Linked DNA regions of Homo sapiens: all the other regions are linked to region 3. The links are contacts of gene promoters, found by promoter capture Hi-C in blood cells and fetal thymus (Javierre and others, 2016). All regions are on one chromosome and are shown on one strand. Each heading gives the region's core, a stretch centred on a gene start or on the middle of the fragment in contact. The rest is flanking DNA. Distances are from core to core; before and after follow the strand shown.

Region 1 (2,769 bases), core at 1-2,500, 300 kb after region 3:
TAATTGTGGGTTTCTGTGTTCACCACCATTTCATCTCTGGCCTCTTTCTAGTCTTCTAAGAAATGTTATAGACTCAATATGCTTCTTACGTGCATTTTCTTCTCAGGGCCCTGATTTTCCCAATACTGTTATATACATAAAACCTTCTAGCCCCTAGGGGTGATTGAGGGTCTTCAAATAGCTCAGAGAATAGTTGAGAACTTGAGCACTGACTAGATATTTTAAGATGTTGAGTGATTATTATTACCCTCTAAAATAATGGTATTGGAATTATGTTTTTAAGGAGTCTATATTTTAGAGAGGTACAAGCTGAAATATTTGGATGAGATAAGCTCTCTGCGATTTGCTTCCAAATAATATGGGGGGTGGGGGTAGGAATGGAAGGGAATACAGATGAAACAATATTGACTGTAAGTTGATCATTTTTATGGTAGAGTTTTGGTACCTGGGAGTTCATTATACTACTCTTTCTACTCTTGTGTGTTTGACATTTTTCTTTATTGAAAAGATAAAAATAAATAGTCAAAGGAACCCCAGAGATATGTGTCTTCACAGATACCCCGAGATGTCCAGCCACATTTTGCAATTTACTTGACAACTGGTTGGGGAAGACAATGCATTATATAGACTGTTTTTAGACTCCGCAGTCTATGGAGCACAGGGGCTCCAGACTCACTCATTTCCCAGCATTATGTATCTGATTTGACTTTCCTGGAAACATTCTTACTAGTTGCTCATAGGTTGATATCTCCATTTGTTGTGACTCCCACAAACAGGCTCAGATACAAGTAGGAAGTCCAGAAGTGAATCAGTTGCAGATATGTGTTATTGGAAATGTAAAGATGAATAGAAAGGCTTTGGGTACAAGGAAGTGGTTCCAGCAGTGCCATGATACTGCCCGCATTCACTGAGCATTGCAGTTGATGGGGTAACAGGTATGCCTTAAAAGCCAAGAGAATGACTAGGTCCCTAAGACCAGCTGCTGCATGTGCTCAGTTCTTAGTAGTCCTCTAGATGAAGGAAGTTCTCCAGCATTGGCCTGGCGTGTATTGATAATGAATTATCTCTTTGATTGTTGTTTTCCATTATCAGTTAACGGGGCTGTTCCAGTTTACGGTCAGACTGGCATCTGAGACAGAAGCTCGATTCACCTCGGTGGAGAGGATCAATCACTACATTAAGGTCAGACTGCTGTAGGCCTTTTACCGTGATCTGACTCCTCTTGGAGTCGGTTTACCCTTTGCTGCCTCAGCTGGGTGTACAAGGAGGAGGCTTGTGTTCTCTGCCTATCTAATCCCACAGAATCTCCAGCAATCTCTCAACCGTGCTTGGAATGGGAAAGAGATTACCGTAAGAGTTTCTAAGTATATTTGTAAATTATGTCGAGCTGAGAACTTCATTGGCTAATTTCCAGAATGTTCAGAACCTTGTCAGTTCAGCTTAACTGACTAATGGAGCATTTTCCTTACACTGTTTAAAACCATGTATTGTTTTAATTCTTACTATGTCCAATTGTTCTTAATCAGGGATGGCCATCAGGACCCCCTGCTGAGCTTTTGGCAGGACAAACGTGGCCTCATCTCTGGATTCTGTTGCAGTGGATTGGGGTGGGACCCAGGCTTCTATAGTTTGAAAAGCTCCATAGCGAATTCTAAACTGCTCTCCCAACTTACAAACGAGTAAATTTAATTGATACCAGAGTATCCAGCTCTTCCCACCTTTCCCCAGGAACCCCTTCCGTCTTGCCGTGGGTGGCAGGCATCTTGCTGCTGTCCTAACTGGCACTCTTAAACAATTTCCTACAGGGATGTCTTAATCCATTTCACACTGCTGTAAAGAACTACCTGAGATTGGGTAATTTATGAAGAAAGAGGTTTAAGTCACTCACAGTTCCGAAGGCTTAACAGGACGCATGGCTGGGAGGCCTCAGGAAACTTACAATCATAGCGAAAGGTGAAGGGGAAACAAGCACATCTTCCCATGGCAGAGCAGGAGAGAGAGAGAAGGGGGAAGTGCCACACACTTTCAAACAACCAGATCTCCTGAGAACTCACTGTCACGGGAACAGCAAGGGGGAAGTCCACCCCCCTGATTCAGTCATCTGCCACCAGGCCTCTCCCCTCACACATGGGGATTATTATACAATTCGAGATGAGATTTGGGTGGGAACACAGAGCCAAACCACATCAAGGGGTGTCCAATCATTTGGCTTCCCAGGGCCACATTGGAAGAAGAATTGTCTCAGGCCACACATAAAATAATACTAACGATAGCTGATGAGCTTAAAAAAAAAGATGGCAAAAAAAAGTCTCATAATATGTTAAGAAAGTTGACGAATTTGTGTTGGGCCACATTCAAAGCTGTCCTGGGCTGCATGTGGCTCAAGGGCCACAGATTGGACAAATTTGCTTATAAAGAAGCAGCATCATGAGTAGTTAGATTCTCAAATTGAACTCAATTCTTAAGAGTTATCTATTTTATTGAACTGCTGTGAGACTTTACAAGCATCTGTGTCATTGTTTATATGTGAAGAGTATATTCTGAGTTCCCAACACTTGACTTTGAAACATAGTTTTGAAAAGTTAGCTTTTTTTCTTTTTTTCCTTTTTTAATTTATTTTTTATTTTTTTATTTTTTTTGAGAGAGGGTCTTATTGTCACCCAGGCTTGAGTGCAGTGGCATGAATACGGCTCAGTCCAGCCTCGATCTCCCAGGCTCAAGTGATCCTCCCACCTCAGCCCCGCCAAGTAACTGGGACTACAGGCATGC
Region 2 (2,977 bases), core at 144-2,643, 280 kb after region 3:
CTTAGCGATGAGTGGTTAGTAGTCTCTAAATGACCCTCCTCTCTGTGTGCCTTGTCCAGGGTAAACTGGTTGGAATCTGTGGCAGTGTGGGAAGTGGAAAAACCTCTCTCATTTCAGCCATTTTAGGCCAGGTAAGATTTTTGTTATTGTCCTTTTCTGCTGCTTTCTCTGGTTTGCAAGAGTCTCAGGAAAAACGAACAAATTTCCTGGAGAGTCAGGAAAGGTGGAAACAAATGAACCCTCAGCCTGCATTGTATGCCCCCAATCCCCCGCAGTTCCCCCCAGTTCTCCCCCTTCACAGCCTTCTGCCTGGAAGGAGGCCTGGTGGGCGCCTGATGGATGACTGACTGTTGTCCCAGCTGGAACCATTTGGTCTCATGCCTTCTTTCATTCAGCATGTATCTATTGAGTGCCACAGGTATGCCCGTGTATTGAAAATGTCAGAGATAAGAGATGAGCAGACACCCTACACTGCAGCGCTGCCAACAGAGTTAACCTGTAAAGAAGCAGGGCGGCCAGCACTCCCAGCCTCTCTGTCAGACAGGACTGTCAGGGTTTGATCTAGAAGCAAAGCCCCTCTGTTTTCTGCCTAATCCCTGAAAGAGTCATGCCCTTGGGGAGTTCATGGTCCAGTGGGGAGCAAGGCCTTGAGAACACAACAAGCACATCTCCAGGCAGGGAGTGAACAGCGTGCAGGGCCCAGCACACGGTGGCCAGTGCTGAGAGTGAGGGACAGGATGGGGCCGGAGTCATCCCACTGAGACACACTATCATTGCTGTGTTTTAGAATCAAACAATCCAGAAAAAAAAAAAAAACAAGGTGCCCACATGCTTTTACATTAGAATTAAATTAACTTGACTTAGATGGTTGAGATGAGCATAAACTTATGATTATCTCTACACCCTGATGGATAAGGTCCACTGAATTGAAATGAAACAGAGGGGGAGCAGGGGTGCTTTTGTAGCCCCCAGATTATGGAATGCTTTCTTGTCTTGTTTGGCATCAGCTGTCACAGTTGGTGAGTTGTGGTCCTCCTTGAGGGTGGTGGTGCCTGGGGCTGTCTGAGTCAGATCATGGCAGGCATCACCTCCACCTTCTGCTTTATGACACTCTCCAGTGGCTGGGCCCAGCCATTGGTCTTGTAAAAAGCACCAGACTTCCTAGGTGATTTATGATGACCAACCAGATTTGGAGGGCCAGTGAGGAGAGACAGAGATGGGGGGAGGGGGAGAAGGAAAGAAAAGGTCAATTCGTAAGTGCTGCTCTGCCATCTAGCAATGTGCTCCTTTTTCCAGGGTTGACTAGGCAGTGGTTAGGTTGAAAACCAAGTCAGGCTTTGCTTCTGGACAAATCCTGGCAACCCTGTCTCTGGCAGGGAAACGGGTTGGGCTGGTCAGCCCTGCTTTAACTGTAGTTTACATCTGTTGATAGCGCTGCAATGTGCGGTGTTTGTGCAGCAGCCAGAAGTGCCGGCTTTCCACAGTAGACCCCCTGGGGACTTCTGAACCCTTTGAAGTGCACATCAGAATGCTACCAGTTTGTGGTGTACGTAGGTACACCTGTGTGTGTACACGCTGTGTGAGGGTGTTTGAGAAGACCAGCTTATATGAACAAGTACTGCACAGGCTGGTTAGTGAAACTTTGCTTCAAAGCTGTAGCATCCCTAAACCAAGACAAATGTCTACTATCAGTCCCAAACAAAAGAAATCATGGAAGGGGGTAAAATGGATAAGTCAATTCATATCAAACCATTGCAACTGAACACAAACTTCAAAGCACATGGTTCATCACTGCTTGTGGGCAGGCAAGGTCCATCATTGGTAAATGGACACTGTGTATATATTATAAATACTAGGTGATGTCTAACCTGGACTTTTTTTTTCCCTTGGTCCTCATTTCATAGAAGCAACTGGTCTAGCCAGCATCCTAGGTAATTGCCTTGGATGAGTTGGCCTGCCCCCATGTTGAGGCAGGGATTAGCTGGAAACCCCTACAGCATCCTCTCCAGGAGAATTCTGCAAGAACCTCTTGCTTGTGCTTCTCCTAATTTAAACAGTTTGCACACAGCAAATGGGCTGCAGAGGGAAGTGTTTGCCTTCAAGTTATGGGTTATGCTGAGCTCCCATCACACATAAGCAAGGAGAACTTTGATTTTCTTTGCTGCTTAGCTCTCTTTGGAATTAAAGGTGGAATCTGGATTTGGGTCCAAAAAGCATCCCGGGAAATTACCAGAGCTAGATTCCATTGTGGAAGGTGGGGGTTCCGTTGGCATAGGGTGATGGTTTTGAGTTATGATGCCATTGGATGGTGTCTCTCTCCCTAGATGACGCTTCTAGAGGGCAGCATTGCAATCAGTGGAACCTTCGCTTATGTGGCCCAGCAGGCCTGGATCCTCAATGCTACTCTGAGAGACAACATCCTGTTTGGGAAGGAATATGATGAAGAAAGGCAAGGAATGTTTGGCTTCTGTCATGCTTTCCATCTTGGCCGCGTGAGATGCAAGGCAGCCCTAGTCAGCAGGCTCTGCTCCCGCCGTGTCCCTGACGCTGTCTCTTTGTGTCCTCCAGATACAACTCTGTGCTGAACAGCTGCTGCCTGAGGCCTGACCTGGCCATTCTTCCCAGCAGCGACCTGACGGAGGTACAGGCCTTCCGCCCCTGACCAGGCATTTAGCAGAGTGGCAGAGCTGGGCCAGAGCTGCTCCTGGGAGTGCAACTGAAATGCTTGGGAGAAGAGCCTCACAGGGAGTTAGGCTGTCATTAGGCCTTTGTGTTAGGAAAGCATGTGTCCATTAGGGCAGGGATGTTAACACTGCTTGTTTTAAGGTTGTAAGTATTTTCTGTGTCTTGGGGATTGTAAACAAAATCCCATTGTTGACTCAGAGTTGATGTTTTTTATTCTATCCAGATATTTTTAAAACTACAAGTAAGCGTGTGCATGTTGAGCATCTTCCTTGAACTTGATTTTGCCAACCTC
Region 3 (2,907 bases), core at 47-2,546:
TCAGAACGGGTTCATGACTTGTCCTAAGTTTTACAAGTCAATTAGCGCTAGGACTTGATCTCGGTCCTCTGAGCAATCCGGTCCCCAAGGCTGCCTGCCTCCCGAGGGTCCGGACAGGGTCTTGGGTACCCCCAACGCTCAAACTCTGAGGGACTGTCTTTCTCCAGAGGGCCCCGGGACCAACAATCTCTTACTCCTGTTAGCCTTGACTAAATACAGCCGGGACTCTGAAGGAGCTGGATCTCGCGTCCCAACGCAGGCGTCCTCCAAGAGGGATAGACAGGCGGGAGGAAAGCGGACCAGGCCAAGCCCATGCGGCGCCGGTCCTGCCAGCTCTACCTGGCGGGGCCGCGCCGGGATTACCCACCTAGCACAAGGATACGGTCCTCGGGCCGCAGCTCCGGCTCTAGGAGGGCACGGAAGGAGGAGAAGTCCCCGAACCAATCGTAGGGGGCAGAATCGGCTGCGCCTTGGTAGCGCTGATCCCAGTACTCGACTTCGCGGTACCCGCAGTTCCGCTCCGGTAACTCCGGAGGCGCCCTACCTGCCCCTGGAGAGGCCATGCTCTCAACCGCCGGGCAGCCAGAGCCGCCGGCCCTTCAGCCAATACGGAAGGCAGGATGCAGAAGGCGGGGCGCTGGTGTCTCCGCCCACCACCTGCAGTTGCTCAACACAAACACGTGGAACTTCCGTCCTTTACTAAGCGCTCTTCGAAGAATCCTCCGGCTGGGAAAACTATCGTCCAGACCCTGAATCCTCCGGCTGTACTGCCAAGTCATTTCCTAGGGCCGCACTCAAGGTGTCAGACTCACGTGGGCTCATCACTGCGTCCTCTCATATTTTCAATATGAATGACTTTTATCAGGAAATCTGAAAATTAGTGAAAGGTTCATTTTTCTCAGCATCCGGAAGGCTCGAAGGGCAGGCAGGAGGGGCGCGAACAGGGGCTTTGCCCTCCTGGAGAGACAGCATGAACACAGATGTTCCCAGCGCAGGCGAAGGAGAATGCTGGCTTCAGCGGTTGTGGGGGAGGTAGGCAGGAATGTTGCTTTTCTGGACATTCGTTCTAAATTAGCGCCTGTGTACCCAGGGCTGGGTATAAACTGAGGAGTAAGACATTGTCCCTGCTCCTATGGAGCGTGGAGTGCATCAGAGGAGACAAATGCAGAAAAATTACATTTTAGTGGAGTAAATGAAGACTGGCTACTCGGATCGGCGCTTAGCCTGGTGGGACGCCAGGCACGGGAAGCGGAACCTAAGTGTCGAAGGTTCGGGTTTCCGGGGGTGGTGGGCCCACACAAGCGGCGCACCGTTAAGATGGCGGCTGGGCTGCGGAAACGCGGCCGGTCCGGTTCCGCGGCCCAGGCAGAGGGACTCTGCAAGCAATGGCTGCAGCGCGCCTGGCAAGAGCGGCGCCTGCTGCTGCGGGAGCCGCGCTACACGCTGCTGGTGGCCGCCTGCCTCTGCCTGGCGGAGGTGGGCATCACCTTCTGGGTCATTCACAGGGTGGCATGTGAGTGCGCCGAGGGGGAGGGGAGGGGAGGGAGGGAGACCTGAACCCGCGACCCAAACTGGATCTCAGACCTGGAACTCCAAACCAGACTCTGTATCCACTCACTCGTCAATTGCGAACCCATCCATATCCCTTACCTGAGCGCCAAGCCTGCTCTACAGAAAACCGGATCTTAATCTGCCCGCATGGCAGAGGTGGATACCCTAGAGATTGGCCTTCTGCACTGAACTTACAGCCTGCAAACCAGCTTAGAAGTCAGATTTGAGCCAAAATTGTTGTACTGCTGCTGCTGCTGCTTTTCTCTGTGGCTTTGGACACCTCAGGTCTCCTCCTGGATCTCAGCTTTTTCCATGTGTTCAGTTCTGTGATCTTTGAACGTCCCTTCTCAATGATGGCATCTTGTGACCACTTGAGTCCATTAGGCATTATTGGCTACTCCTTTCCAGGCTGAAACTATACTCTAGGCTTAAGGCACTTGGCTTTCTTGCTAAAGACTCTTAATTCAACAAATATTTATTTAGTGCTTATTATATGCCTAGCATTATGCTGGTTACCAGAGAGAGGTACAGTGGTGAATAAGAGATGCATTTCTGCCGGGCGCGGTGGCTCACGCCTGTAATCCCAGCACTTTGGGAGGCCGAGGCGGGCGGATCACGAGGTCAGGAGATCGAGGCCATCCTGGCTAACACGGTGAAACCCCGTCTCTACTGAAAAAAAAAAAAAAAAAAGAATTTAGCCGGGCATGGTGGCGGGCGCCTGTAGTCCCAGCTACTCGGGAGGCTGAGGCAGGAGAATGGCGTGAACCCGGGAGGCAGAGCTTTCAGTGAGCCGAGATCACGCCACTGCACTCCAGCCTGGGCGACAGAGCAAGACTCCGTCTCAAAAAAAAAAAAAGAAAAAGGATGCATTTCTAACTCGGGCCTGGACAGTAAGTTAGCAGGCAATTATAATGCATCATAATCATGGTAGTAGTAACACAGGATACCATAAAGGGCATAGGAAGTCACTTAAACCAGGTTGGAGGAGTCAGCAAAGGCTTCATAGAGCCACCCTTGGAAGGTAGGAATTAGCTATTTAAGGAAAGAAGAAAAAGGTGAGGGGAAGGAGTGCTGTGGACAGAGGATCCTCTATTAAAAATCTCCAGCTAGGCTGGGCGCAGCGGCACACGCCTGTAATCCCAGCACTTTGGTAGGCCTAGGCGGGTGGATCTCCTGAGGTCAGGAATTTGAGACCAGCCTGGCCAACATGATGAAATCCTGTCTCTACTAAAAATACAAAAATTAGCTGGGCGTGGTGGCATATGCCTGTAATCCCAGCTACTCGGGAGGTTGAGACAGGAGAATTGCTTGAACCCGGGAGGTGGAGGTTGCAGTGAGCCGAGATTGCGCCACTGT
Region 4 (2,911 bases), core at 391-2,890, 350 kb after region 3:
GGCATGAGCCACCGCGTCCGGCCAATATTTATTTATTTTTGAGACAGAGTCTTGCTCTGTCACCCAGGCTAGAGTGCATTGGCACGATCACGGCTCACCACAGCCTCTATCTCCCAGCTCAATCGATCTTCCCACCTCACCCTCCCGAGTAGCTAGGACTACAGGCATGAGCCCCCATGCCTGGCTAATTTTCGTTGTTTTTGTTGTTGTTGTTGCTTTGTTTTTTTGCAGAGATGCAGTTTCACCATGTTGCCCAGGTTGGTCTCGAGCATAGTTGAAGATGATAGCTCTCTGGTGATCCAGCTTGAGATAGCTTTCCGAGCAGATTTTTGACGTGAGCTGGACAATAACATGAGGACACCTGCTCTTTGCCCAGGCTTGCTGTGTGCTGAGGGCTTTGTGCCCACGGTGTCATTCGGTACAATGGTGCTCTGTATTGTTGACGGAGCCTTGCAGATCCTAGATGACAGATGTTGAATTACTTACCTATCTTACTGTGTAACAAATTACCCCAAAACTTAGTGGCTTAGAACAACAGCATTTATCATTTCACAGTTTCTGAGGGTTAGGAAAATGGGTGTGGCTCAGCTGGATGCCTCTGACTCAAGGTCTCTCATGAGGTTACCATCAAGTTGTTGTTGGGGCTACAGTGTCACCTGAAGACTCCCCTAGGGGAGGCTCCACTTCAAGCTCACTTACATGGAGGTCTTCAGGACCCGGTTGCTCATGAACTGTTGGCTGGAGACCTTCAGTTCCTTGACACATGGGCCTCTGCATAGGGTAGCTCAAAACATGGCAGCTGAACCCCATCAGAGAGAGCAAGCAAGAGGGCACCCAAAATAGAAGCAATGGTCTTTTTGTAACCTAATCTTAGATGTGATATCCCATTGCTTTTGCCATATTCTTTTTTTTTGAGACAGAATCTCGCTCTGTCACCCCAGGCTGGAGTGCAGTGGTGCAATCTCAGCTCAGTGCAGCCTCTGCCTCCTGGGCTCAAGCAATTCTCCTGCCTCAGCCTCCCGAGTAGCTGTGATTACAGGCATGTGCCACCATGCCTGGCTAATTTTTGTATATTTTAGTAGAGATGGAGTTTACCATGTTGGCCAGGCTGGTCTTGAACTCCTGACCTCGAGTGATTGGCCTGCCTCAGCCTACCAAGGTGCTGGGATTACGGGTGTGAGCCACCGCACCCGGCCGCTTTTGCCATATTCTATTTGTTGGGTTTGTTGTTGTTGTTGTTGTTGGTTTGAGACAGTGTCTCCCTCTGTTGCCTGGGTTGGAGTGAAGGGACACAATAATAGCTCACTGCAGCCTCAACCTCCCAGGCTTGGGTGATCCTCCCACCTCAGCTGCCTGAGTAGCTGGAACTACAGGCACCACATTGTGCCACCACAATGGGCTAATTTTTAAATTTTTGGTAGAGATGGGGTTTCACCATGTTGCCTAGGTTGGTCTCAAATTCCTGGGCTCAAGTGATCCTCCCACCTTGGCCTTCCAGAGTGCTGGGATTCCATGCATGAGCCACTGCGTCTGGCCCATTTTCTATTTGTTAGAAGTGAGTTACTAAATCCATCCTATCCTCAAGGGGAGGGGATTACACAAAGGTGTGTATCCTGGGAGTCAAGGCTAACTGGGGTAACTATCGGGGAATCTGTCCCGATAGTCACGTAGGTTCTTTTCTGTTTTTCCTAAGCGTCGGCCAGCTTGAGAAATAAAGGGACGAGTACAAAAGAGAGAAATTTTAAAGCTGGGCGTCTGGGGGAGACATCACGTGTCGGTGGGTTCCGTGATGCCCCACAAGCCGCAAAAACCAGCAAGTTTTTATTAGGGATTTTCAAAAGGGGAGGGAATGTGCAAATAGGTGTGGGTCACAGACATCAAGTACTTTACAAGGTAATGGAATATCACAAGGCAAGTGGAGGCAGGGCAAGATCACAGGACCACAGGACTGGGGCAAAATTAAAATTGCTAATGAAGTTTCGGGCACCATGGTCATTGATAACATCTTATCAGGAGACAGGGTTTTGAGAGCAACTGGTCTGACCAAAAATTTATTAGGCGGGAATTTCCTCTTCCTAATAAGCCTGGGAGTGCTATGGGAGACTGGGGTCTATTTCACCCCTATAGCCTCGACCATAAGAGACAGGCACACCTAGGGGGGCCGTTTATAGGCCTATACCCCCAGGCGCGTATTCTCTTTCCCAGGGATCTTCCTTGCTGAGAAAAAGAATTCAGTGATATTTCTCCCATTTGCTTTTGAAAGAAGAGAAATATGGCTCTGTTCCACCCGGCTCATCGGTGGTCAGAGTTTAAGGTTATCTCTCGTATTCCCTGAACAATTGCTGTTATCCTGTTCTTTTTTCAAGGTGCCCAGATTTCATATCATTTAAACAGACATGCTCTACAATTTGTGCAGTTAATGCAATTATCACAAGGTTCTGAGGCAACATACATCCTCCTCAGCTGACAGGATTAAGAGATTAAAGTAAAGACAGGCATAGGAAATCACAAGGGTATTGACTGGGGAAGTGATAAGTGTCCATGAAATCTTTACAATTTATGTTTAGAGATTGCAGTAAAGACAGGCATAAGAAATTATAAAAGTATTAATTTGGGGAACTAATAAATGTCCGTGAAATCTTCACAATCCAGGTTCTTCTGCCATGGCTTCAGCCAGTCCCTCCGTTCGGGGTCCCTGACTTCCCGCAACAGGTAACATACCAACATGTGTAGGTGGTGAGGTTGCCATTTTAATGAAAATGAAACAGAGCGACTCATCTTGGTGCCCTGGTGCAGGGTGATGCCTCTGTACATAGAGGTGGTGGCGGGAGCCCTGAGACTTTCCTCGGAAAGGAGCTTTGGCTCTGCCCCGAGTACTGCCCTGGAGTACAGTGGTGTGATCTCAGCTCAC
Region 5 (2,959 bases), core at 29-2,528, 260 kb after region 3:
TGCAAGCTCCGCCTCCCAGGTTCACACCGTTCTCCTGCTTCAGCCTCCCGAGTAGCTGGGACTATAGGTGCCTGCCATGGCGCCCAGCTAATTTTTTGTATTTTTTTTTAGTAGAGACGGGGTTTCACCGTGTTAGCCAGGATGGTCTCGATCTCCTGACCTCGTGATCCGCCCACCTTGGCCTCCCAAAGTGCTAGGATTACAGGCGTATATGCTTTGAAAGCGATGAAAATCTCACCTTATTCTCTGTTTTAGCTGCATCCCAGAGATGTTGATGTATTGCAGTTTCATACTGTTTAGCACAGAATATGTTCTGGTTTCCATTTAATGCCTTCTTTTTATTTATTAATTTAAAGAGATAGAGTCTTGTTCTGTTGCCCAGTCTGGAGTGTAGTGGTGAGATCAAAGTTCACTGCAGCCTCAAACTCCTGAGCTCAAGCAATCCTCCCACCTCAGCCTCCTGAGTAGTTGAGATTATATAGGTACAAATTGTCATGCCCGTTTGATGTTTTCTTTCACTTACATTACTTAGAAGTATATTGCATAATTTCTGAACATTCAGATATTTTAAAAATCTTTGTTACTGAACTCTAATTAAATCCTAAAGTGGTCAGAGTGCATGTATACATGATGTCAGTCTTGAGATTTGTTGAGGTTTGCTTTATAGCCCAATGTATAGTCCATTTTGGCAATGTATTTGAAGTGACATTTTTCAGATCTTTTGTCATCTTCTGAAGCTTTGGATATCCAAATAAGGCTGGTCCCTGTAACATTCTGTACCTACTCTGTACAGATTCCCAGTTTCTACTCACTTAAAGTAGGTGTGCTTGTATTTTTAGTGTATCTTTCTCTCTCAATCCAGGAGGTTTTTTCCTTCCCCTTGTGATTATATGCAGCTCATAGGTAAGAAAAACCTTTGTAATGTACTTAAATCTCAGCAGTCCTCAGCTCATTATCAAGTGCCGTAGTCCCTAACCACTAAATTAAGTGTTGACCTTATACATAAGGACTTCATTTAAGAGCGAGTTCGTTCTTGTTGTTGACTCCTGTCATGTTGTACCATTATTCTCTTGAAACTGGTCTGACTTGCCTTTGACAAAAGGAAAGGAGTGTGCTTTGCAGGGCTATGTGCTTTCCTAATACCAGAAGTTATCTAAAGATACTTAACTGTGCTGTGAACTAAAGCTATTGTGTTTGATCTGCCCAGGCATCCAGCTGACTCCTGTATACAAAATTCTACCCGTTCAGTTCTGTTAATGTTTAAGTTCCCGCTGTTCTTTGGTGGGAAAGGAGGTGATGTATAAAAATCAACTGCTTTGTATAAGGCTTGGTGTGTTAGGTGCTAAACCACTTAACTTTTTCTTGATTTGGGGATCTATTCTCCTTGTTTTTTTGTTTGTTTGTTTGTTTTTTGTTTTTTTTTTCCTTCTTTTAGAGACAGAGTCTTGCTCTGTCACCCAGGCTGGAGTGCAGTGGTACGATCATAGCTCATTGCAGCCTCCAACTCCTGGGCTGAAGTCATCCTCCTGCCTCCATCTCCCAAGTAGCTGGTACTGCAGGCACGCATCACCATGCCTGGCTGATTTTTTTTTTTTACTTTTTGTAGAGATGGTGTGTTGCTGTGTTGCCCAGGGTGGTCTTGAACTCCTGAGCTCAACCGATCCTTCCAAAGTGTCAGGATTACAGGCGCGAGCCACCATGCCCAGCTGAGATCTGTTTTTTACTGTTTCACAATAATTGCTGGAAATATTTGTAATAATGTGACTTTCACTGCTAAGACAGAAAAGGAAGATAAGGAAATTGAGGAAAATGAAGCTTCTGCTTCTACAACAGGAAAGCATAAACGTTTGAGTTACTTTTAGAGTAAACGGGGGATAAGTGTGTCTAGATTCTTGACCCACCCTCTTCTGCCACAGTCAGACTTAGAATGCACTTTTGCATGCACTTTTGTTAATCTAATGAACGAACATTTATACACTTTCTAGTTAGTAAATACGTGTAACTTTATATTTCAGCTCATGAGATCCTTTGCTGCGTGCTGCAGGGAAGTGTAGAGCTCTTCAGCTGTGCAGCCAGGATAAGAACTCACGTTCTGTTCTCCCTGCTGCTGCTGTGACAGGGGAGGCACGTGTACATCCAGGCTCTTTCTGTGTGGCAGGGCTGTTTAATTGGGGCTGATGGAAATTTTTGTCATAGGAAATGGGCAATCAGATTTTCAGTTAGTAGTGAAATAATTGACTCTCAATCCATATTGGGAAACAGAAGATAAAACATTTGGTAATAAAAATGTAAATTTTAGAACATAGAACACAAAGAGTGGTCCATAAGCTGGGCGCGGCAGCTCACACCTATAATCCCAACACTTTGGGAGGCTGAGGTGGGCGGATCACGAGGTCAAGAGATCAAGACCATCCTGGCCAACATGGTGAAACCCCGTGTCTACTAAAAATACAAAAATTAGCTGGGCATGGTGGTGCACGCCTGTAACCCCCCTACTCGGAGGCTGAGACATGAGAATTGCTTGAACCGGGGAGGCTGAGATTGCAGTGATCCAAGATCATGCCACTGCACTCCGGCCTGGGCAACAGAGCGAGACTCCATCTCAAAAATAAAATAAAATAAAAACAGGGCCGGGCGCGGTGGCTCATGCCTGTAATCCCAGCACTTTGGGAGGCCAAGGCAGGTGGATCATGAGGTCAGGAGTTCGAAACCAGCCTGACCAACATGGTGAAACCCCACCTCTACTAAAAATACAAAAATTAGCCAGGCATGGTGGCACATCCCTGTAATCCCAGCTACTCAGGAGGCTGAGGCAGGAGAATTGCTTGAACCCGGGAGGTGGAGGTTGCAATGAGCCGAGATTGCGCCACTGCACTCCAGCCTGGGTGACAGAGGGAGACTCTATCTCAAAAAAACCCAAAAAAACAAAGAGCGGACCCTAATGTAACCTATGGACTTC
Region 6 (2,879 bases), core at 293-2,792, 410 kb after region 3:
TCACTCTGTCGCCCAGGCTGGAGTACAGTGGCTCAATCTTGGCTCACCACAACCTCAGCCTTCCGAGTAGCTGGGACTACAGGCGCCCACCACCACGTCTGGCTAATTTTTGTGTTTTTAGTAGAGACGGGGTTTCACTATGTTGGCTAGGCTGGTCTTGAACTCCTGACCTCAGGTGATCCACCTGCCTCGGCCCCTCAGAGTGCTGGGATTACAGGCGTGAGCCACCGTGCCCGGCTACAATTATAGTCTCTTGCACAGAAGCCAGCTTGGTCAAAATTCAGGTCTTCTTGGGTCCTCCTTTTGAGGAGTGTTCATGCTGTCCTTCCATCTTGCAGTTACCCTGACTTCTAAGAATGCAACCCGAGCTTGTTTCCCTGTTGAGGCCACTTGGCAGTTATATGAGGGACTGGGGACATCTGAGATCTCTGGGACTCATAATAATTTTCTTTAAAGTTTTAGTAATTCCCCAAATGTAAGATAATCTTGTATTCTGAAGCAACCCGTCACATAGAAGACATTAAGAAAACATTGATTAAGAGAGGTAGATGCTATTTTCCAGAAACAACCGTTTTTATATGAAAAGGTAGGAACCTTTCTTTTTAATGATAGGGGCTTCTTTCAAAAGTTATTTTGCTCTTAGGTGTCTTTTTTTTTTTTTTAAACATCTCATTCATAAATAATTAAAAACTTATGGAAAGTTGCAGGAAATAGTACAGAGGACTCCCATAAAGTCTTTTTTGTTTGTTTGTTTTGTTTTGTTTTGAGACAGAGTCTCGCTGTTTTACCCAGGCTGGAGTGCAGTGGGACAATCTCGGCTCACTGCAACCTCTGCCTCCCGGGTTCAAGCAATTCTCGGGCCTTAGCATCCTAAGTAGGTGGGATTATAAGCATCCGCCACCACGCCCAGCTAATTTTTTTTTTTTTTTTTTTTTTTGTATTTTTAGTAGAGACGGGGTTTTACCACGTTGGTCAGGCTGGTCTCAAACTCCTGACCTCAGGTGATCCACCTGCCTCGGCCTCCAAAAGTGCTGGGATTATAGGCGAGAGCCACTGCACCCAGCCCCATGTAGTCTTTTTAAAAAGCAGGCAACTCAGGTTTACTAGTTAACATGCAAAAAACTGCACATATTTAAAGTTTGGTAAGCTTTGACATGTAGACACCCGTGAAACCATCACCACACTCAAGATCATGGACATATTCATCCCAAAAGCTTCCTAGTGGTCACTCCTTCCTGCCCCTCCTCTACCCCTGGCGACAACTTACCTACTTCTACTAAAGATAAATTAGTTTGCAAATGGAACCATACAGCATATACTAGTATTTGTTGTCCTGGCCTCATTTACTCTGTATAATTACTTTGAGACTCATCCATGTTCTGTGTATCAGTTTATTCCTTTATTATTTTTGAGACAGGGTCTTACTCTGTTGCCCAGGCAGGAGTGCAGTGGTGCAATCATAGCTCACTGTAACCTTGACCTCCTGGGCTTAAGGGATCCTCATGCCTCACACTGTGCTGGAATTACAGGCGTGAGCCACCACACTGGCAATGTTTTGTTTCTTTATGAAGATGAATAAAGATTTCACATGAATTTTTTAAGATGAAACATGCTTCATGCATGCAGGTTTCTTTGGGCGTATTCATGCCCACTCCCTCTGGTTGGAGCTTTGTCAGAGAAGTGTGAGCAGTTCTTTCCTAGGCCATAGGTGAAAGATGCGCATGACACGCTTAGCACTGTCCTTGCGGTTCATGAGGCACATACATCTTACTGCCCCGTAGTAAAAATTCAGTCTTTCCAAGCGATTACTGTGTGAAGGACATTTAGTTCCTTCACCTATTATTGGGGACATAAGTAACTGAAAGCTTTGAAGCTTTGTGCTCACCTAGAAATGTGCAGCATGTAAACTTTCTAGAAAATGTGCTGCTCTTTAGACCTTGTAGCCACTAAGCAGTTGCATATTGAGTTTCCCATTCTCCCTGCTGTGTTACTTTGCAGTCTGGTGCCATCATGACAGTCCTCGCAGCTGTCTGCACTAAGATCCCAGAAGGGAGGCTTGCCATTATTTTCCTTCCGATGTTCACGTTCACAGCAGGGAATGTAAGTATTTTTATGAAGTGCAGTGCTGGGGATAGTGGTGATGTTTTTATGTTGAGTGGGTTCTTGCCCTTAAGTTAGAAATGTCAGTGCTGGAGCAATCACAGTTGTGCCGCTTGTTTCTTGCTGCCTTTCAGGCCCTGAAAGCCATTATCGCCATGGATACAGCAGGAATGATCCTGGGATGGAAATTTTTTGATCATGCGGCACATCTTGGGGGAGCTCTTTTTGGAATGTAAGTTTGAGTGTAATTGATTGCTAAACTGCTTCCTTGGGTCATGCGCTCCTCCTACCCCAGCCTCACCCCTACCCCCCATCCCCATGGCAGAGACATTGAACTATGCAACGGAAGCAGAAGCAGGTGGGCTTGGGAGGGTGAGGAAACCTCAACGTGGCTTGCTTTGGGTTTACCCAGCATACCTGGCTCATTGTAGAGACAGTCTGTGCCTTTACCCTACGCTTAACCTTAAGTTGCCCCAACTGTTGGCCTGTTATTCCCAGCCCCCTCTTAGAAGACTGCAGCCTGGCCCCCAGTCTATGCTGACATCTTCTTTTTCCCCTTCAGACTTTCCTGCCCTCCTCTCCCCTGCCTGGCGTCCCACCCTGCTACCCTGACCTCTGTCTCGCCAGTGCTATTTAGACATGCTGAGTTGGCGGAGCCATTGCTCTGTATGACTGGAGTAGAGGCCGGTGACTGCAAACCAATGTGGACCACTTACTGAGTACCCGCTGTATGCAGGCACCAAGCTAGTTCCCTTATGTTATACTATTACTACTCCCAT
Region 7 (2,700 bases), core at 133-2,632, 330 kb after region 3:
TTTACACATGAGGAGACAAAGTCTCAGGGAAAGTCCATAGGAAGTGGAGTAGGCCGGGCACGGTGGCTCATGCCTGTAATCCCAGCAGTTTGGGAGGCCGAGGCGGGCAGATTGCCTGAGCTCAGGCGTTCAAGAGCAGCCTGGGCAACATGACGAAACGCCGTCTCTACCAAAAATACAAAAAATTAGCCAGGAGTGGTGGCACACACCTGTAATCCCAGCTACTAAGGAATTTGAGGTGGAAGGATCATTTAACCCTGGGAGGCAGCGGAGGTTGCAGTGAGCTGAGATAGCGCCACTGCACTCCAGCCTGGGTGACAGAGTGAGACCTCATGTCAAAAAAAAAAAAAAAAAAAAAAAGCAAACAGTAAAAATTGGTGGGATTTAAAAAAAAAGGAAGCGGAGGAGATGGGACAGGACTCAGGCCAGCAACCGCACTGCCAGCACACTGTCTAAATTGTGGAGAAATATTGAGAAAAGGTTAAATAGCGCAGGTTCAGCCTGGGCTTCAAAGCTGAATTGAGAGAACTTGGGGGCTAAGGATTTTTCTCCTCATCTTGAAATTATTTTCACACTAGTGTTTTTTGTGACTATCTTTGTTTGCCTTAAACTAAGTGTTGACTGAGATTCTGTCATACATAAGATACGTTGAGCTACTACTTTGTAAGTAGGTGTTAAAATAGAGCCTAGTAAGGTATAATAGATGGGACCAAGAACATCTTCTGGGAAATTCTTTTTTTCTTTTTTTGAGCCAGAGTCTCGCTCTGTCGCCCAGGCTGGAGTACAGTGGTGCAATCTTGGCTCACTGCAACCTTCGCCTCCGGGGTTCAAGCGATTCTCCTGCCTCAGTCTCCTGAGCAGCTGGGAGTACAGGCATGTGCCACCATGCCTGGCTAATTTTTGTATTTTTAGTAGACACAGGGTTTCACCATGTTGGCCAGGCTGGTCTCGAACTTCTGACCTCAGATAATCCGCCCACCTCAGCCTCCCAAAGTGCTGGGATTACAGGCACAAGCTACTGTGCCCAGCTGGAAATTTTTTCTTAAGAACACAAATTGAGACCCCTTTCTTTCGATGGGTGGCTTGATGTTTTGGAGTGGGGAGCCCATTCACTCTTTATGAGGGACTCTATCCTTCTCTTCCCTTAATTTTTTTCTTGCTAATTAAAATTTCCTTGTAATTTCAGGAAAGCCTAAAAAAAAAAAACCACACACACACCAGAAAAGCATAAAGGCAAAAACAGGATGATAAGCCATTTACCCCCAGAGACGAGCATTGTAATACACTGACTTACCCCAGCTGTGTTTTTCTTGCATCTGCACACACAGACTCCAACAGATGGGATGCTCTCTGCCGCAGACACAAAATACCAGACTAAAAGGGGTTTGGAGGATGGGATTTTGTTATCCCACATGGGTTGGTTTTTGTGCAGCTCAGCAGTGTGGGGCTCTGTATCACTCTCAGCCAGTACTCACCTTCCCCTGCTGGTACAGGATGCCTGCTCAAGCACCCAACCAAAGGAAGGACACGTGTCCAAAGGAAGGACACGCTTATGTTCTCCTTGTGGCCTGTCCACTGAGCAGGACACCCTCTCCTAAAGCACCAAGGAGACTTCCTCTTACATCTCCTTAAACAAGGTTATGTTCCATGCCTTTGCCCTGTGGCGGGGGCGGCTGAGAAAGTTGAGTACATGCATTTCAGCCTCTGCCACAGGAGGTGGGTTCTGCCAGCGTATCATTCAGGGTTCTGCTGCCACATGATTTTCCACGGCTACATAGAAGTCCATCATAGGAATGGCCACCTGACTAAGTCACTCCCTGACTTCCTTTTTCTCCCCTGACAACTAGACATTCTGAGCTCTTCCATTTCCCTCTATAAGGTTAGATCAGCTTGCATAACAAAATGGCATTTGTCTGGTGTGCCCTTGACTTGAGCTGCAACTTCTCTCCCCTGCAGTTTATTTATTTTATTTTGTTTATTTATTTATTTATTTTTTTGAGACGGAGTTTCGCTCTTGTTGCCCAGGCTGGGAGTGCAATAGCACGATCTCTGCTCACCACAACCTCCGCCTCCCGGGTTCCAGCGATTCTCCTGCCTCAGACTCCCCAGTAGCTGGGATTACAGGCATGCACCACCACACCCAGCTAATTTTTGTATTTTCACTAGAGACAGGGTTTCACCATGTTGGTCAGGCTGGTCTCGAACTCCTGACCTCAGGTGATCCGCCTGCCTCGACCTCCCAAAGTGCTGGGATTACAGGCATCAACCACCGCACCCAGCCTGTTGTTTTTTATTTATTTATTTATTTATTTATTTATTTATTTATTTATTTATTATTTTGAGGCAGAGTCTCGTTGTGTCGCCCAGCCTGGCATGCAGTGGTACAATCTCAGTTCACTGCAACCTCCACCTCCTGGGTTCAAGCGATTCTCCTGCCTCAGCCTCCCAAGTCACTGGGATTGTAGGCACCCGCCAACCATGCCCAGCTAATTTTTGTATATTTAGTAGAGACAGGGTTTCACCATGTTGGCCAGGCTGGTCTTGAACTCCTCACCTCAGGCAGTCTGCCCACCTCAGCCTCCCAAAGTGTTGAGATTACAGGCGTGAGCCACCAGCCTCCTGCAGTTTATAGACCTGGTTGGTTGGTTCCTTCACTCCCAAGGCTGAAGGAATTTGGATTTATGTGAAGGAGGTCTGGAA

Evidence for each region. The method cuts DNA at HindIII sites, captures the fragments that hold promoters and counts their contacts. A CHiCAGO score of 5 or more calls a contact.
Region 1: a contact is called between a fragment that was not itself captured here and the fragment with the promoter of ALG3 in region 3, in 1 of 17 cell types (M1 macrophages). The highest score is 5.6, in M1 macrophages.
Region 2: a fragment that was not itself captured here is called in contact with the fragment with the promoter of ALG3 in region 3 in 2 of 17 cell types (M1 macrophages and M2 macrophages); the score reaches 6.4 in M1 macrophages.
Region 4: a contact is called between a fragment that was not itself captured here and the fragment with the promoter of ALG3 in region 3, in 17 of 17 cell types (endothelial precursors, M1 macrophages, M2 macrophages and 14 more). The highest score is 33.2, in endothelial precursors.
Region 5: a fragment that was not itself captured here is called in contact with the fragment with the promoter of ALG3 in region 3 in 5 of 17 cell types (M1 macrophages, M2 macrophages, endothelial precursors and 2 more); the score reaches 8.3 in M1 macrophages.
Region 6: a contact is called between a fragment that was not itself captured here and the fragment with the promoter of ALG3 in region 3, in 2 of 17 cell types (M0 macrophages and megakaryocytes). The highest score is 5.7, in M0 macrophages.
Region 7: a fragment that was not itself captured here is called in contact with the fragment with the promoter of ALG3 in region 3 in 6 of 17 cell types (M1 macrophages, M2 macrophages, M0 macrophages and 3 more); the score reaches 14.9 in M1 macrophages.

Annotation. Positions count from the first base shown.
Region 1 is chr3:183,944,263-183,947,031 of GRCh38, reverse strand. It overlaps ABCC5 (ATP binding cassette subfamily C member 5), which reads left to right. Exons shown (of 30, transcript NM_005688.4): 24 at 1,093-1,182. Among named protein-coding and RNA genes, the nearest start is that of MIR4448, 59 kb to the right of the region's middle. RefSeq lists an enhancer at 2,038-2,127. The HindIII fragment of the contact is 3,580 bases long and covers 1-2,769 here.
Region 2 is chr3:183,964,849-183,967,825 of GRCh38, reverse strand. It overlaps ABCC5 (ATP binding cassette subfamily C member 5), which reads left to right. Exons shown (of 30, transcript NM_005688.4): 12 at 60-131; 13 at 2,325-2,449; 14 at 2,569-2,641. Among named protein-coding and RNA genes, the nearest start is that of ABCC5-AS1, 40 kb to the left of the region's middle. The HindIII fragment of the contact is 6,780 bases long and covers 1-2,977 here.
Region 3 is chr3:184,247,351-184,250,257 of GRCh38, reverse strand. ALG3 (ALG3 alpha-1,3- mannosyltransferase) reads left to right here and starts at 1,296. Exons shown (of 9, transcript NM_005787.6): 1 at 1,296-1,513. The coding sequence starts at 1,318. EEF1AKMT4-ECE2 (EEF1AKMT4-ECE2 readthrough) reads right to left here and starts at 586. Exons shown (of 19, transcript NM_014693.4): 1 at 368-586. The coding sequence starts at 563. EEF1AKMT4 (EEF1A lysine methyltransferase 4) reads right to left here and starts at 586. Exons shown (of 3, transcript NM_032331.4): 1 at 368-586. The coding sequence starts at 563. RefSeq lists enhancers at 700-809, 840-899, 980-1,029, 1,228-1,971, 1,972-2,715. The HindIII fragment of the contact is 5,512 bases long and covers 1-2,907 here.
Region 4 is chr3:183,899,216-183,902,126 of GRCh38, reverse strand. It overlaps the pseudogene CYP2AB1P. Among named protein-coding and RNA genes, the nearest start is that of MIR4448, 14 kb to the right of the region's middle. The HindIII fragment of the contact is 4,315 bases long and covers 1-2,911 here.
Region 5 is chr3:183,989,772-183,992,730 of GRCh38, reverse strand. All of the region lies in intron 2 of ABCC5 (ATP binding cassette subfamily C member 5), which reads left to right. Among named protein-coding and RNA genes, the nearest start is that of ABCC5-AS1, 15 kb to the left of the region's middle. RefSeq lists an enhancer at 2,158-2,658. The HindIII fragment of the contact is 1,078 bases long and covers 740-1,817 here.
Region 6 is chr3:183,832,945-183,835,823 of GRCh38, reverse strand. PARL (presenilin associated rhomboid like) reads left to right here. Exons shown (of 10, transcript NM_018622.7): 8 at 1,999-2,100; 9 at 2,235-2,332. Among named protein-coding and RNA genes, the nearest start is that of MAP6D1, 8.8 kb to the right of the region's middle. The HindIII fragment of the contact is 651 bases long and covers 1,217-1,867 here.
Region 7 is chr3:183,921,671-183,924,370 of GRCh38, reverse strand. All of the region lies in intron 29 of ABCC5 (ATP binding cassette subfamily C member 5), which reads left to right. Among named protein-coding and RNA genes, the nearest start is that of MIR4448, 36 kb to the right of the region's middle. The HindIII fragment of the contact is 3,947 bases long and covers 1-2,700 here.